3 separate regions of the Homo sapiens genome follow, and regions 2 and 3 are each linked to region 1. The links are contacts of gene promoters, found by promoter capture Hi-C in human tissues and cell types (Jung and others, 2019). All regions are on one chromosome and are shown on one strand. The core of a region is centred on a gene start or on the middle of the fragment in contact, and the rest is flanking DNA. Distances in the headings are between cores, read along the strand shown.

What was found. Contacts are between HindIII fragments. The study calls those that stand out against the background at their distance.
Region 2: a fragment that was not itself captured here is called in contact with the fragment with the promoter of GPRC5D in region 1 in 1 of the 25 tissues and cell types used here (dorsolateral prefrontal cortex).
Region 3: a contact is called between a fragment that was not itself captured here and the fragment with the promoter of GPRC5D in region 1, in 1 of the 25 tissues and cell types used here (stomach).

Annotation. Positions count from the first base shown.
Region 1 is chr12:12,950,565-12,954,988 of GRCh38, forward strand. GPRC5D (G protein-coupled receptor class C group 5 member D) reads right to left here and starts at 1,606. Exons shown (of 4, transcript NM_018654.2): 1 at 1,543-1,606. All of the region lies in intron 1 of GPRC5D-AS1 (GPRC5D and HEBP1 antisense RNA 1), which reads left to right. The HindIII fragment of the contact is 7,971 bases long and covers 1,183-4,424 here.
Region 2 is chr12:14,018,715-14,023,379 of GRCh38, forward strand. No RefSeq gene overlaps it. Among named protein-coding and RNA genes, the nearest start is that of GRIN2B, 39 kb to the left of the region's middle. The HindIII fragment of the contact is 5,764 bases long and covers 1-4,665 here.
Region 3 is chr12:14,136,222-14,140,727 of GRCh38, forward strand. No RefSeq gene overlaps it. Among named protein-coding and RNA genes, the nearest start is that of GRIN2B, 160 kb to the left of the region's middle. The HindIII fragment of the contact is 4,662 bases long and covers 396-4,506 here.

The DNA.
Region 1 (4,424 bases), core at 356-2,855:
GGAAGGCTGAGGCGGGCCGATCACTTGAGGTCAGCAGTTCAAGACCAGCCTAGCCAACATGGTGAAACCCCATCTCTACTAAAAATACAAAGATTAGCCGGGTGTGGTGGTGCACACTTGTAATCTCAGCTACTCGGGAGGCTGAGGCAGGAGAATCGCTTGAACCCAGGAGACAGAGTTTACATTGAGCCGAGATTGCCCCACTGTACTCCAGCCTGGGTGACAGAGTGAGACTCTGTCTCAAAAAGCAAAAAACAAGGCAGGGTACAGTGGCTCATGCTTGTAATCCTAGCACTTTAGGAGGCCAAGGTGGGTGGATCACTTGAAGTCAGGAGTTCAAGACCAGCCTGGCCAACATGGTGAAACCCCATCTCTACTAAAAACACACATAAAAAATTAGCCGGGCATGATGGCATGCGCTTATATTCCCAACTACTTGGGAGGCTGAGGCAGGAGAATTGCTTGAACCCAGGAGGCAGAGGTTGCAGTGAGCCAAGATCGCACCACTGCACTCCAGCCTGGGCGACAGAGTGAGACGCTGTCTGAAAACAAAAACCGAAAAACAAAAAACACACAAACAAAAAAAGTAACGTCAAGAACCGCAACTGCTTTCGCACCAACCTAATACCTACAAGAATGCCTATTGGGTGGTCCATGCTGGGCACTGTAATTTCTCTCATTCTGAAATGAAGACACCTGGGCATATGAAATAAATGTCCTTACCAAAATTGTTCCTAGGACACTGTCAAGAGCCTGAGTTACATTTTGTTTGACTCCTGATACTTATCTAAATGCTAAGCTTCCCTGGGGGAAGAAATTCAGAGATATATGCAAACATAGTCTAAGGGGATGGGAAATGCCATCACACATATTACCCCAAATTTATAGCAGTTTTATATAGGATGTCAGTAAAGGAAATGAGAAAGGCAACCTAAACCCTTCAAAACTATCTTGGCTTCATCCTGCTGGGAAAAGCTGAACAGGCTTCACTTGATAATATGTCCATTTGTGTATGCTAATTTCCAAGGCTTTGAAAGCTAATACAAAATCTTTTTCATAAAAGGAGGTGTATGAGAATGTTTGCATGATTGATGGAATTCAGTTATATCAGACTCCAGAACAAGGACTGCCAACATTAATGGATCATTGGATCGTTCTAGACACTGATGCACTGCTTGAAGGAGACAGGCAGATAAATTACTGGGAATAAAATTTCCCAGTAATTTTAATGACTGTTCCTTCTTTCAGTTAATTCAAGTCAATCCAATGCAGCAGGTTGTAGTTAAACACCTATTGTGTGTTCATCAAAGAATTGTACAAAATGGTCCCTTTCTTTAAATACCTTTTTGAACAGTTTAGTACGAAAGTCCATGTCTTGACTGAGGTAGCCTAGGAAAAAGATCCCACATATTCATTTGAAAAAAAAAAATCAATTGCAATTGAATACCCCTTAGCTCTACTTCCCTTCAGTTATCCCCAGACCAGATGGCTGGAGTGACCCAGGTTTACAGCTGAGAACATGGCCCCCCAATTCCAACTTACCTTCTCCGTGTCCACTCTGGAAGCTTAGGCTGTAGTGCTGGCAAAGTTGTAACTGCCAATGAGTAAGAAAGAGCCAACCTCAGCTTCTTTAATCTCTCCCCAAATGGGCGGAAGAACCGTAGGCTCTCACTGAGGTTCCTGCAGTATCTATAAAAAGAACCGGAAGGACAGAAAGACACACCTATTCCAGTTTCACAGCAACTTTTCTACAGAGATTTCCTTGGTGAGAATAATTCTTTTTCATTCTACTGCTGACCAGAGGCACCTTGGCCTTAGGGAGCGGGTGTAAATCTGAAAGTGGGTATAAATCTAGGAAAGACGGCTTCCTCCCTGTGTATTGCAACACATTCAGGGAAGCTACACAAGGCCCTCAGGTGACTTACACCAGGATACCTCGTCCTTCTTCTGACCTATTGCCTAAAAAGCCATCTCTGGAGACTTTCTCACATCTTGATTTTTTTTTTTTTTTTTTTTTTGAGATAGAGTCTTGCTCCATCACCCAAGCTGGAGTGCAATGGCACGATCTCGGTTCATTGCAACTTCTGGCCTCCCGGATTCAAGCAATTCTCCTGCCTCAGCCTCCCGAGTAGCTGGGATTACAGGCGCATGCCACCACATTTTGTATTTTTAGTAGAGACGGGGTTTCACTATGTTGGCCAAGCTGGTCTCAGACTCCTGACCTCGTGATCTGCCCGCCTTGGCCTCCCAAAGTGCTGGGATTACAGGTATGAGCCACCTTGCCCGGCCCCCACATCTTGATTTTAATTCAAAAGAGCATCCATTCAACAAAGTACAGGTAATGAGGTTTCACTGGGCCATAAGGAAGGGTGGTTTTGTCTACTACTGGCATTAAAATGGCCAGTGGCAGGCAAAACTGTGAATCAGTCTGTGAATTTATCCCAAGATAAAGAACTGACAATTAAAGGTCACCGGCTGATACTTGAATACCATATTCCTTTTCTTCTATGGTGACACAAAATACAGCACAGCACAGTGTCCAGCCTACACCCACCAACCGCACCCCGCCACCTCCAATTTACTCCTTGATTTTCTTCCTGAATATATGTTTGTTTTTTTTTTTTTTTGAGATGGAGTCTCGCTCTGTCGCCCAGGCTGGAGTGCAGTGGCGCGATCTCGGCTCACTGCATCCTCCGTTTCCTGGGTTCAAGTGATTCTCCTGCCTTGGCCTCCCGAGTAGCTGGGATTACAGGTGCATGCCACCACGCCCGGCTAGTTTTTTATATTTTTGGTAGAGACGGGGTTTTACCATGTTGGCCAGGCTTGTCTTGAACTCTTGACCTCAAGTAATCTGCCTGCCTCTGCCTCCCAAAGGGCTGGGATTACAGGTGTGAGCCACCACACCCAGCCCCTGAATATATGTATTTCGACAGAGGACTGCTGAAGACCCCAAACCAGTGTCTGGTTTCAAGGTGCTTGTGATCTGGCTCTCCCTTTCTTACCCACCTGTACTTCCTTCACATCTCCAGGCTCTATGGTTTAGCCTCCTTGGTTTTCCCACTGGCTCACAAAAAAAATAAGTTCCCAAGTGCTCACCTCTGTCCCTGTCCGAAACTGCCTTGTGCTTGATTCCCATTTATCCTATTTTTGACCCAAATTCATTCCCTCCCTGTAGGATTTTCTTCACCTTATCTCCTCTATGACTCTTCCTGCCTTCCCTCATCATTCTAGACCTCGCTGATCACCTTCCACCAGGAACTATACAAGACTTGGGGTCTGTTCTGTTCAAAATTACAGAAACCCTATTTTCTGCCTATTAGTTAACTTATGAATACATATTAAGTAATAATGAATTGAAATAAATGAATAATAAATGTCTCAATTTCTGTTATATGAATTAATCTCATCTCCTGATTGGATTTATAGCTGTCTAGGGGTCAGGTTCCACATTTTATGTCCCCATAGTACCTGCTTCTATGTGGAGAACCTCCTGGGTGATGGATAATTCAATTAATGGAATGATTCTAAAGATAAAATTCCAGATCTTTCAGAAGGTCCTTTTTAGTGGTGTGGTTTTTCAACAGATGTGTGTTAATGGAAAACACCTGCAAATAAGTGAGAGACTTAACAAACCCTTGACAAAATCATTCTGAAGTGGTGTTCTATCTTTAGAGTTCCTTAACTTCAAAAAGCCATTTTCTCCTATGAGAGAAGAAGATTCTAGGGATGATAGAATTTTCTTACATCCAATTACACCTTAAGCTCCCCTTTACCTGCTTTGGGTATAATAGCAGTCTTTCCGAAGCTGTGAAGGCTAATGTTTACGTTAAGGGTAAAGGGATTTTTCAGATGATGAAATGTGACATCCGTGAGCATCCACTCAAAGAGCATAGTGAGTGGTTAAACTGCTGTCAGCAGAACTGCAGGAGGATTTTCCATTGAATTCTTCCAGGAGTACTATTTTGTTGATCCTGCACCTCCCACCCCCTTCCTGCTGGTTAGTCATGGTTGTCATTCCTCCTCCTGGTGATGTTTTAGCTTCTGGTGTGCTTGTCTTCTAAGGAGATTCCTCTTGAGCTCCTGATGGCTTGAGACCAGTGGATTTATGGGTTAATGACCACAAAGCCCTTTAAGTACCTTAGATAAAAGGACGTGTCCCAGGTATTAATTATTGTTATTTTAAAATCTAGCGTTATAGAATTAACCCATCTGCAGCTAGGCCTTAAGGATATGAGGGGCCTTTTTGCCTACACACATCCAAATTACTCACAGCTCATTTCTTTTGGCTTCTGTGCTACAATAACATCAGAACAAACAGCTCAGATATGGCTTTGATTAATCAAAATACACTGATTACAATGAGTCCAATAAAAATGGAAATAAAACAGTCAGGACACCAAACATCTTATGTCAAACACCTATTT
Region 2 (4,665 bases), core at 1,234-3,733, 1.1 Mb after region 1:
CCATTTTTTAATCAGATTCTTTGTCTTTTTATTATTGAATTGTAATAGCTATTTATGATTCCGAGTATGTCTTTTATCAGTTATATGACTTAAAAGTATTTTCTTCTAGTCTGTGGCTTAGTTTTATTAATAGTGCCTTTTAAAGAGTAAAACATTTTAACTTTGATAAAGTCTAATTTATAAATTTTGTCATTTTTGTTAGATTGAAGAAATCATATTTGTGATCTAATGTTTTCTTCTAGAAATGTTACAGTTCTTGCTCTTACATTTGACTCTCTGATCCATTTTGAATTAATTTTGTGTGTGTGTGTGTGCAGGGTAATGTAAGAGTCTAAGTACTTTTGCATATGGATATTAAATTGTCTCAGCACAATTTGTTGAGAAGACTATTTTTCCCCAAATGAATTGTATTTGCACCTTTTTTGAAAACCCATTCATCATAAATGTTAGAGATTATTTCTGGGCTCTCCATTCTGTTCCACTGACCAATGTTTATCCTTATATCAATAAATACCACACTGCCTGATGACCAGAACCATGCTGTAATTTTGAAATAAGCTAGTATAAATCCCCAACTTCATTTTTCTTTTTCAAAATTGTTTTAGCTCTTTGTATTTCCATATAAACTTTAGAATCAACTTGCCAAATTCAACAAGAAACAGCCTGCTGGGATTTTGATAGGAATTGTGTTAAATCTACAGATCATTTTGAGAAGAAATGCCATCTTAATAACATTGAGTCTTACATTCCAAGAATATGGTATCTCTTTCCATTAATTTAGATCTTGTGTGATTTCTCTTAGCAATGTTTTATAATATTTTGGCTTATGGGTCCTACACTTCTCTTGTTATACCTATTCCTAAGAATTTTCTTTTGTTCATACTTTTGTGAATGAAATTACTTTCTTAAATTTATTTTCGAATGGTTCATTGCTGGTATAAAGAAATAAAATTGGTTGTTGCAAATTTACTTCATAGCCTGCAGCCTTGCTAAACTCACATTAATTTTAACTGGTACTTAACCTACATATAATCTTGGGATTTTCTACATACAAAATCATAAAGGCCTTTAATTTATTTCGTAGCTTAGTTACATTGGCTGGAACATTCAGTAAAATGTTGAGTAGAAGTAGTGAGAGTGTATGTACTTGGCCTATTCCCAATCTAAGTGGAAAACTTTTACAACTATCATTCACAATTAAGTATAATATTAGCTGAAGGTTTTTCATACATACTCTTTCTCAGGTACAGGAAGTTCGTTCCTATTTCTAATCTGTTGAGAGATTTTAAACATCAATGAATACTATATTTTGTCAAAAGTTGTTTTCTGTGTCTACTGAGAAAATTGTATAGCTTTAGTCCTTCATTCTATTAATATAGTATATTTATTAATTGATTTGCATATGTAAAGTCATTCTTGCATTTCAGGAATAAATTCTACTGGGTAATGGCATATAATCCTCTGTTTATGTTGCTTGTTTCAATAAGCTAATATTTTGTTAAGAATTTCTGCATCTATGTTCATTAGAAATAATTGTATAGTTTTCTTTTCTTGTGATAACTTTGTCCTGCTTTGGTATCATATCAATACTGACAAGTTAGGAAGGGTTTCCTCCTCTTTTTTTCTGAAAATGTTTGTGTAGGATTGGTATTATTTTTTCTCTAAATGTTTGACAAAATTTACTAGTGATGCCATCCAGGTCTGAGCTTTTCTTTGTAGGAAGCTTGTAAATTACTAATTCAATCTCTATGAATTTCAGGTTTATTCAGATTTCTATTTCTTCTTATGACAGTTTTGGTAACCTGTATCCTTCTAGAATATTAACTATTTCATCTACATTGTCTAATTCATTGGCATAATATTCCCTTCTAATTCTTTTAATTTCTGCAGGATCTGTGGTGATGTTCTTTCATTCTTGATTTTGTTAATTTGTCTTCTATCTCTTTTTTTGTTAGTGTAGCTAAATGTTTATCAGTTTTACTGATCTTAAATAAACAAACTTTTGATTTTGTGGATTTACTCTGTTTTTCCAATTTGTATTTCATTTATTTCTTTTTTGGTCTTTATTATATTCTTCCCTATGCTTACTTGAGATTTAACTTACCATTCTTTGTCTAGCTTCTTGAGGTGGAAGCTTAGGAAATTGATTTTAGATCTATTTTCTTTCTAATATAAGCACTTAACATTAAGTTTGTCTGTAAGCACTACTTTAGCTACCTCTCATAAATTTTGATAGATTAGGTTTTAATCATTATTCAGTTAAGCATATTTTCTAACTTACCTGGTGATTTCATCTTTGACTCACTGTTTTTCTAAAACTATTTGTTGAAATTCCAAATATTTGTGAAGTCCTAAATACTTTTCCGTTGTTGGTTTCCTGAATTTTTTTAGTCAAAAATCATATTCTGAGATGTGTTTGACAGTCTATAGTATTATTATTTATCATGGAAAATGTTCCATGTACACTTGAAAAAAATGTGTACCCTGCTGTTGTTGGATAGAGTGCTCTATATATTATTTACATCAAGTTGGTTAATGGTGTTGTTCAAGTCGTGAATATCCTTACTGATATTCTGTCTAGTTCTGTCAATTACTAAAAGAAGGATGTTGAAATTTCCAACTACTACAATATTATATTGTCTGTCCTTTAATTCTGTCAATCTTTGCTACATTTGGGACTCTGGTGTTAGATGTTTATACATTTATAATTGCTACTTCTTCCTGATATACTGAAAATTTTATTATTATAAAATTGTTATCTTTGTCTCTCATAATAGTACTTGTCTTCAGGTCTATGGTTTTGTATGTAATAAAGCCAGTTTGGTTCTTTACTAGCTATTGTTTGCTTTTTCTCTCCTTTTACTTTCAACCTGTTGGTATTTTTCAATATAATGTCTCTTATAGATAACATATAGTTGGACCTTGCTCTTTCCTCTGTTAGAGTTTTAATTATATTTTTAAATTATTTTCTTAGTAATTCTTCTAAGGACTACAACATATATCTTTAATTTATCATAATCTGTTTCAGGTTAATAATAATAGTAATAATATACAGGAACTTTGCTCCAGTTTATTATTTCCACTATCTTTTCTCACTTTAGTGCTAGTATTGTCATACATATTACAACTATATATGTAAGATATCCTCCAAAATATAGCATTATAATTATTGCTTCAAGTACTTTTTGTTTTTAAAGAAATTAAGAAAAGAGAAAACACTGGACAGTCTTTTATAGTTGTCCATATATTTGACATTTTCTTTTTTTTTTTTTTTTTTGTTTGAGACGGAGTCTTGCTCTGTTGCGCAGGCTGGAGTGCAGTGGCGCGATCTCGGCTCACTGCAAGCTCCGCCTCCCGGGTTCACGCCATTCTCCTGCCTCAGCCTCCCGAGTAGCTGGGACTACAGGCACCCACCACGACGCCCGGCTAATTTTTTGTATTTTTAGTAGAGACGGGGTTTCACCATGTTAGCCAGGATGGTCTTGATCTCCCGACCTCGTGATCCACCCGCCTCAGCCTCCCAAAGTGCTAGGATTACAGGGGTGAGCCACCGCGCCCGGCCATATTTAACATTTTCATTGGTCCTTCTTCCTTCCTATGTAATTGAGTAATCATCTGCTGTCATTTCCTTTCAGCCCAAAGGACTGCCTTCAGATTTCTTGTAGACAAGGTCTATTTTTATTTTTGTTTATCTGGGAAGGTCTTTATTCTGCATTCATTTTTTACTCTTTTTTATTTTTTAAATTTTTTTTGAGATATGGTCTCACTGTGTCACCCAGGATGGAATGCAGTAGTGCAATCATAGTTCACTGCAGCCTCAAACTCCTGGGGTCAAGGGGTCCTAAGCCTCCTGAGTAACTGGAAGTATGGAAGTAGGGGTACACACCACCATGCCTAGCTTTTTTCTTTTTTCTTTTTTCTTTTTTTTTTGTAAAGATGGGGTCTCATTATGTTCCCCAGACTTATCTCAAATTCCTGGCTTCAAGCAATCCTCCCAACTCAGCCTCTCAAAGTGCTGGGATTACAGGTGTGAGCCACCTCACCCAGCCTGCCTTCATTTTCGAAGACTGTCTTGCTAGAAAGAATATTCTTCGTTGATAGGCTTTTTTTTTTTCCTATGATCACTTTGGCTATTTATTTCACTGCCTTCTACACTCTGTATGTTTTATGAAAAGCAAGCCACTAGCCATCGTGTATGGTTCTTCATTCACAATGAGTCATTTTCCTCTCACTCTCACTATTCTAAAACTTTGCTTTTGTCTAGGCTTTTAAAAGTTTTTTATTATCATGGGTATAGGTGTAAATAACTTTGCTTTTATCTTAGTTGATGCTTAATGAGTTTCTTCAACATACAGACTAAGGTTTTCACTAGGTTTGAGTTTATGGCCATTAATTCTTCAAAAAAATTTTGCCCTTTACTCTCTCCACTCCTTATGAACTTTCATTCCAATATGTTGATAGGCTCTATAAGTCTTTGAGTCTCTTCATTTTTCTTCAATCTTATTTTCTTTTTTGTTCTTTAGAATGGATAATTTCTATTGATCTATCTTCAAGTACACTGATTTTCTCTTCTGCCTTTTCAAATCTGTTGAGACTATTTAGCAAACTTTTCATTCCAGTTACTGTATTTTCCAAATGTAGAATCAATAAAAGCATTAAAATATT
Region 3 (4,506 bases), core at 1,477-3,976, 1.2 Mb after region 1:
GTGAGCCATTTTGCAAGAATGTGTAGGAATGCTCAGGGCCCATAGCTAACTGCCTGCCTAATGGGGCACTCACACTTACTGAGTGCCTTCTAAGTACCAGGCAGTCTGTGGGGTGCTTTATTAGTATTTTTGCAGGTATTTTTCCATTTATTCAGAGTTGGAGTGTGGTCCTTCATCAGGATACAAAGTCAAGGTCTTTCAAATGGATCATAAGACATCTACTCACCACATCTCTAAAGTATATGATTATTATTTCAACCCACACAAGATATCTGGAGTTCAGGAGACCTTAATTATGAAGTACCTTTTATAAGTTCCTAACAAAAACCCAGTTCTGACCACTGATGCTTAAGAAAGATAGACTATAGGAATTTTAACTTTTCATTCTTCTTGTTTTTCTTTTAGAATTTCCAAGCTATGTCATGTCACTTCACTGGAAAGTCATATACCTGAATACTGCTCTAGTTCTTTATAGAAATGGCTTCACAAACTATGACTTAATACTATGCCCTCATTTTTCTATCAGAAACTGGTGTAGATAATGCTAAATAAAGAACACCTTGTTTTGTTGAAGATATGTCCACTATGTATACCAACATCTGCAAAGATTTACAACATAATTTTTTTGAATTTAATTCCAGTAAGACATTTGTGCAGTATGTTTACTCATATTAGATATGAGAGCTAGATAACCCAAACTGATTCCCTTGTTTCCCTGGCTCTAAGAAAATCCAGAATTAAGTCTTGGACTTAAAAGTAGACATTTCCTGGCTGGGCGCAGTGGCTCACACCTGTAATCCCAACACTTTGGGAAGCTGAGGTGGATGGATCACCTAAGACCAGGAGTTCAAGACCAGCCTGGCCAACATGACAAAACCCCATTTCTACTAAGAATACAAAAATCAGCCAAGCATAGTGATGGGCACCTGTAATCCCAGCTACTCAGGAGGCTGAAGGAGGAGAATCACTTGAACCCAGGAGGCAGAGACTGCAGTGAGCCCAGATCATGCCACTACACTCCAGCCTGGGTGACAGAGTGAGACCCTGTCTCAAAAAAAAAAAAAAAAAAAAAAAAAGCAAACATTTCCCTTAAACTTGAGTTTTCTGGAATAATTATTCAATGTCCTTCACTGCTTGGCCCTTATGTTTGCATTTTTACTTCAGTGCTCTAAAGAATTATGGTACATTTTCTCAAATAATGTTTTGAAAGTAAACGGAGTAAAAGCAATTAGTCAATGAAGGAACAAAACTACCCAAGTTTTGGGTTATTTCATTTATTATTACTAGTATTTTGCCTAAGTACCCATAAAGCTTTTTAGTTTAAAACATAATCCTCAAATTAGTCTTAGCCTTACAAAATATAAATTGAGCTTCCAAAAGTTAGTTAGCATGCCTTATATTATGAATTTTCCTGACTGTGCTTTTATTAGGGTTTAATCAGAGACTATTGTAAGAATCTCTAATCTGGGTTCTAAGCATTTGACATTATTAAACAGCTAAATGAAAGAGAACAGAAGGGTTGCAAAGTAGAAAATGTATTTTATTTTTAAATTGAACGCCATTATATTTGTAATAACATTGCATGCTAAGAAGCATTAGGCAGCTCTGTCAGTTCCTGCTTCATACAGTCTAAATAAAACTGGAGAGCAATTTCTGAGAAGCCAAGGGGGTGAGGATCTCATGTCTACCCCAGAGCGATTCCCAAGAATAGCAGGTCGGAAGTTCTAAGGTACAAGTGAAAGGCTGTCTGAAGTTCTGTTTGGTTGTTGACCTACTGCTGGCTGCTAGGTTTGCCCAAGGGGTATCAGTGATAATAGGCTAGTCATAGGTCAGTCATTGCACAGATACACTCATCATCCTGGGAAGGCCTCGGATGTGCCTGGAACGACCGATGTGAGTCATGAAGGCCCCCTTGGAAGACCACATCCAACCCCATACTTCTCACCTGGACTGTGACTTAAGCAAAGTCCTCCTGAAGACCAGAGAGATGATCTACCATGAGTGTGCTCCGTCGGAAAACACCCAAATCCTTAAGGACATACAACCTCTTCCTGGGACCCCACATCCACCCTTGCTCTGGGGGTGGCCTAAATGAGGGTGAAGACTCAGCTAGAAGAATAAGGGGCAGCAAACATACCTGCTTGCTACAAAAGAAAAGAGAGCAGAGAGTCAACACTCAATCTTGTTTCCTGACATCACCTGAGTCTGTAACTCCATCGGAGGATTTAGGGGGCAAAAATTAAACTCTCAAAAATGATTTTAAAGATTTTAACCTGTAATTTAAAGAGTAAACATTTGTCATCCTGTTTTGGGTTGCACTGTGTCACAAACCAGAAACAAATAAAATTTTCAAACCAGCAGCTAACTTTAGCACGGTTGAGCCGGGACCATCCACAGTGAGAGAGGCTGCCAGCACAGACAGTACCCTCTGCTGGGCAAAAGGGTCCCTACAGCCCCTCTTAGCAGGGCTAAAGCTGTGTGTAACAGGGTGACCCTCCAAGCTGCCCTGGCCCCCAAAGCCGAATAGCCCATGGGAGTGTCATGGCTAATTTTCCATCTTCGGATATGAGCTCAAGAAATATACATGGCCGGGCGTGCTGGCTCACACCTGTAATTCCAGAACTTTGGGAGGCTGAGGCAGGTGGATCACTTGAGGTCAGGAGTTTGAGACCAGCCTGACCAACATGTAGAAACCTTGTCTCTACTAAAAATACAAAAAATAATAATAATAATAATTAGCAGGGCATCGTGGCAGGTGACTGTAATCCCAGCTACCCAGGAGGCTGAGGCACGAGAATCACTTGAACCCAGGAGGCAGAGGTTGCAGTGAGCTGAGATCGCACCACTGCACTCCAGCCTGGGAGATAGAGTTAGACTCAGTCTCAAAAAAAAAAGAAAGAAAAGAAAAGAAAAGAAAAAAGAGAAGAGAAGAGAAAACAGAAAAGAAAAATGCTTGAGAAAAAGCAAACACCAGAAAGCCAGAGCAGGTGGGAAAGAACAAAAGGCATTTTTCTGCTTCTCTCCACTTTTTACCAACTGCTGCTCACAGCACTTTCTGCTGAAATGTTATTGCTGCTAAGGTGTCAGCAGATGAGAGACAAGTTTCTGCCTTCCCTTGAGACATCTGGATTTCCAAAGCAGGCTTTTGAAAGCTAAAAAGTTTTCAAGCCCCAAATGAGAATGGGTTTGGATTTATTCAAAAAAGGACCATACACATGGGAGAGAGATTTTCCTGGCACACTTCAAACCACATTTTCCAGGAAAGGAAGACTTTCAAGTAGCTCTGCTCAGGTCAGACTTAGGGATACGGGATACTCAAGGGATAGCATAGGATAGCCTGGGCAGAGTAGGGGGGTCGGGGGACATCCCTGTCTTCAACTGAAATGCAAGAATATGTTATAGAAGAACGATCACTATTGGGAAAAGGATGGTTTCATCTAATGTATTTGAAATTATATGAAGGGTTGGTTGATTCCACTTGACAACTATGTATGGAGATCCTCTTAGGAGCTATACTGTGAGATACTAAAGTATACAAAAATTACTAAGACACAATGCCTACCCTCAAGGTGCTCAGTCTGGCAGAGGAGATAAACATGGAAATACCAATGCATTGAGGCCCATACTATACTAGCTTTATGTTCAAAGTGCCATCACCCAAGAAGAAAGAGTGGAGGAGGCCTTTTCAAACATAAGTATAGAAGAGAGATCTTGACTTTAAAAATGCTAATCTCTCATATAAAAGTTTTTAATGAGGCTAGTGCTAGATAAGGGAAAGAAACGGAGAAATGAAGCAAAAATGAGACCTGTAAATTAAGTAAGACCTATTGCAAAAGAATTTTTCCTTTTGCTTTTTAAACTTGCAGCCATTTCAGATGCATAATTATTAACTGTGTCACAAGAATAAAAAAATAAACAGAGCATGGAAGATGATAGTGCACATAAATATTAGATCTTAATATTCATGAAACCTTGGCCATTCACTACATTTAGGGTTAGGGCCAGGAAACCAGAAGGTGAACAGAAAGAGAAAATTGTAATATAGAAGGAAAATCAGATGAAAGCATTACCAAATATTTCAATAAAAGTGGAACTAAGGCCAAATAGGACAAAAGGCAGAGCTGCAGAGGCAGATGATTTATTAACAGAGCTACTAAATTCTGTGTCAAGGGTAATTTCAAGTTACAAAGACTGAAGCTAAGAAAGAATGAAGTAGAAAGTCCAGAGAATTGGGAGTTTAGAGACCAGATTCTAGACTTAGCTGCACTGCTGACAAATAAGGGGACCTCTGTAGACCTTGGTTTCCACATCTGTAAAAAGATAAGGTAGACCGGGTGCAGTGGCTCACGCCTGTAATCCCAGCACTTTGGGAGGCTGAGGCAAGCAGATCACTTGAGGGCACGAGTTCAAGACCAGCCTGGCCAATATGGCAAAACCCGGCCTCTACTAAAAACACAAAAATTAGCCAGGGCATAGTGGCACACACCTATAATCCCAGCTACTCGG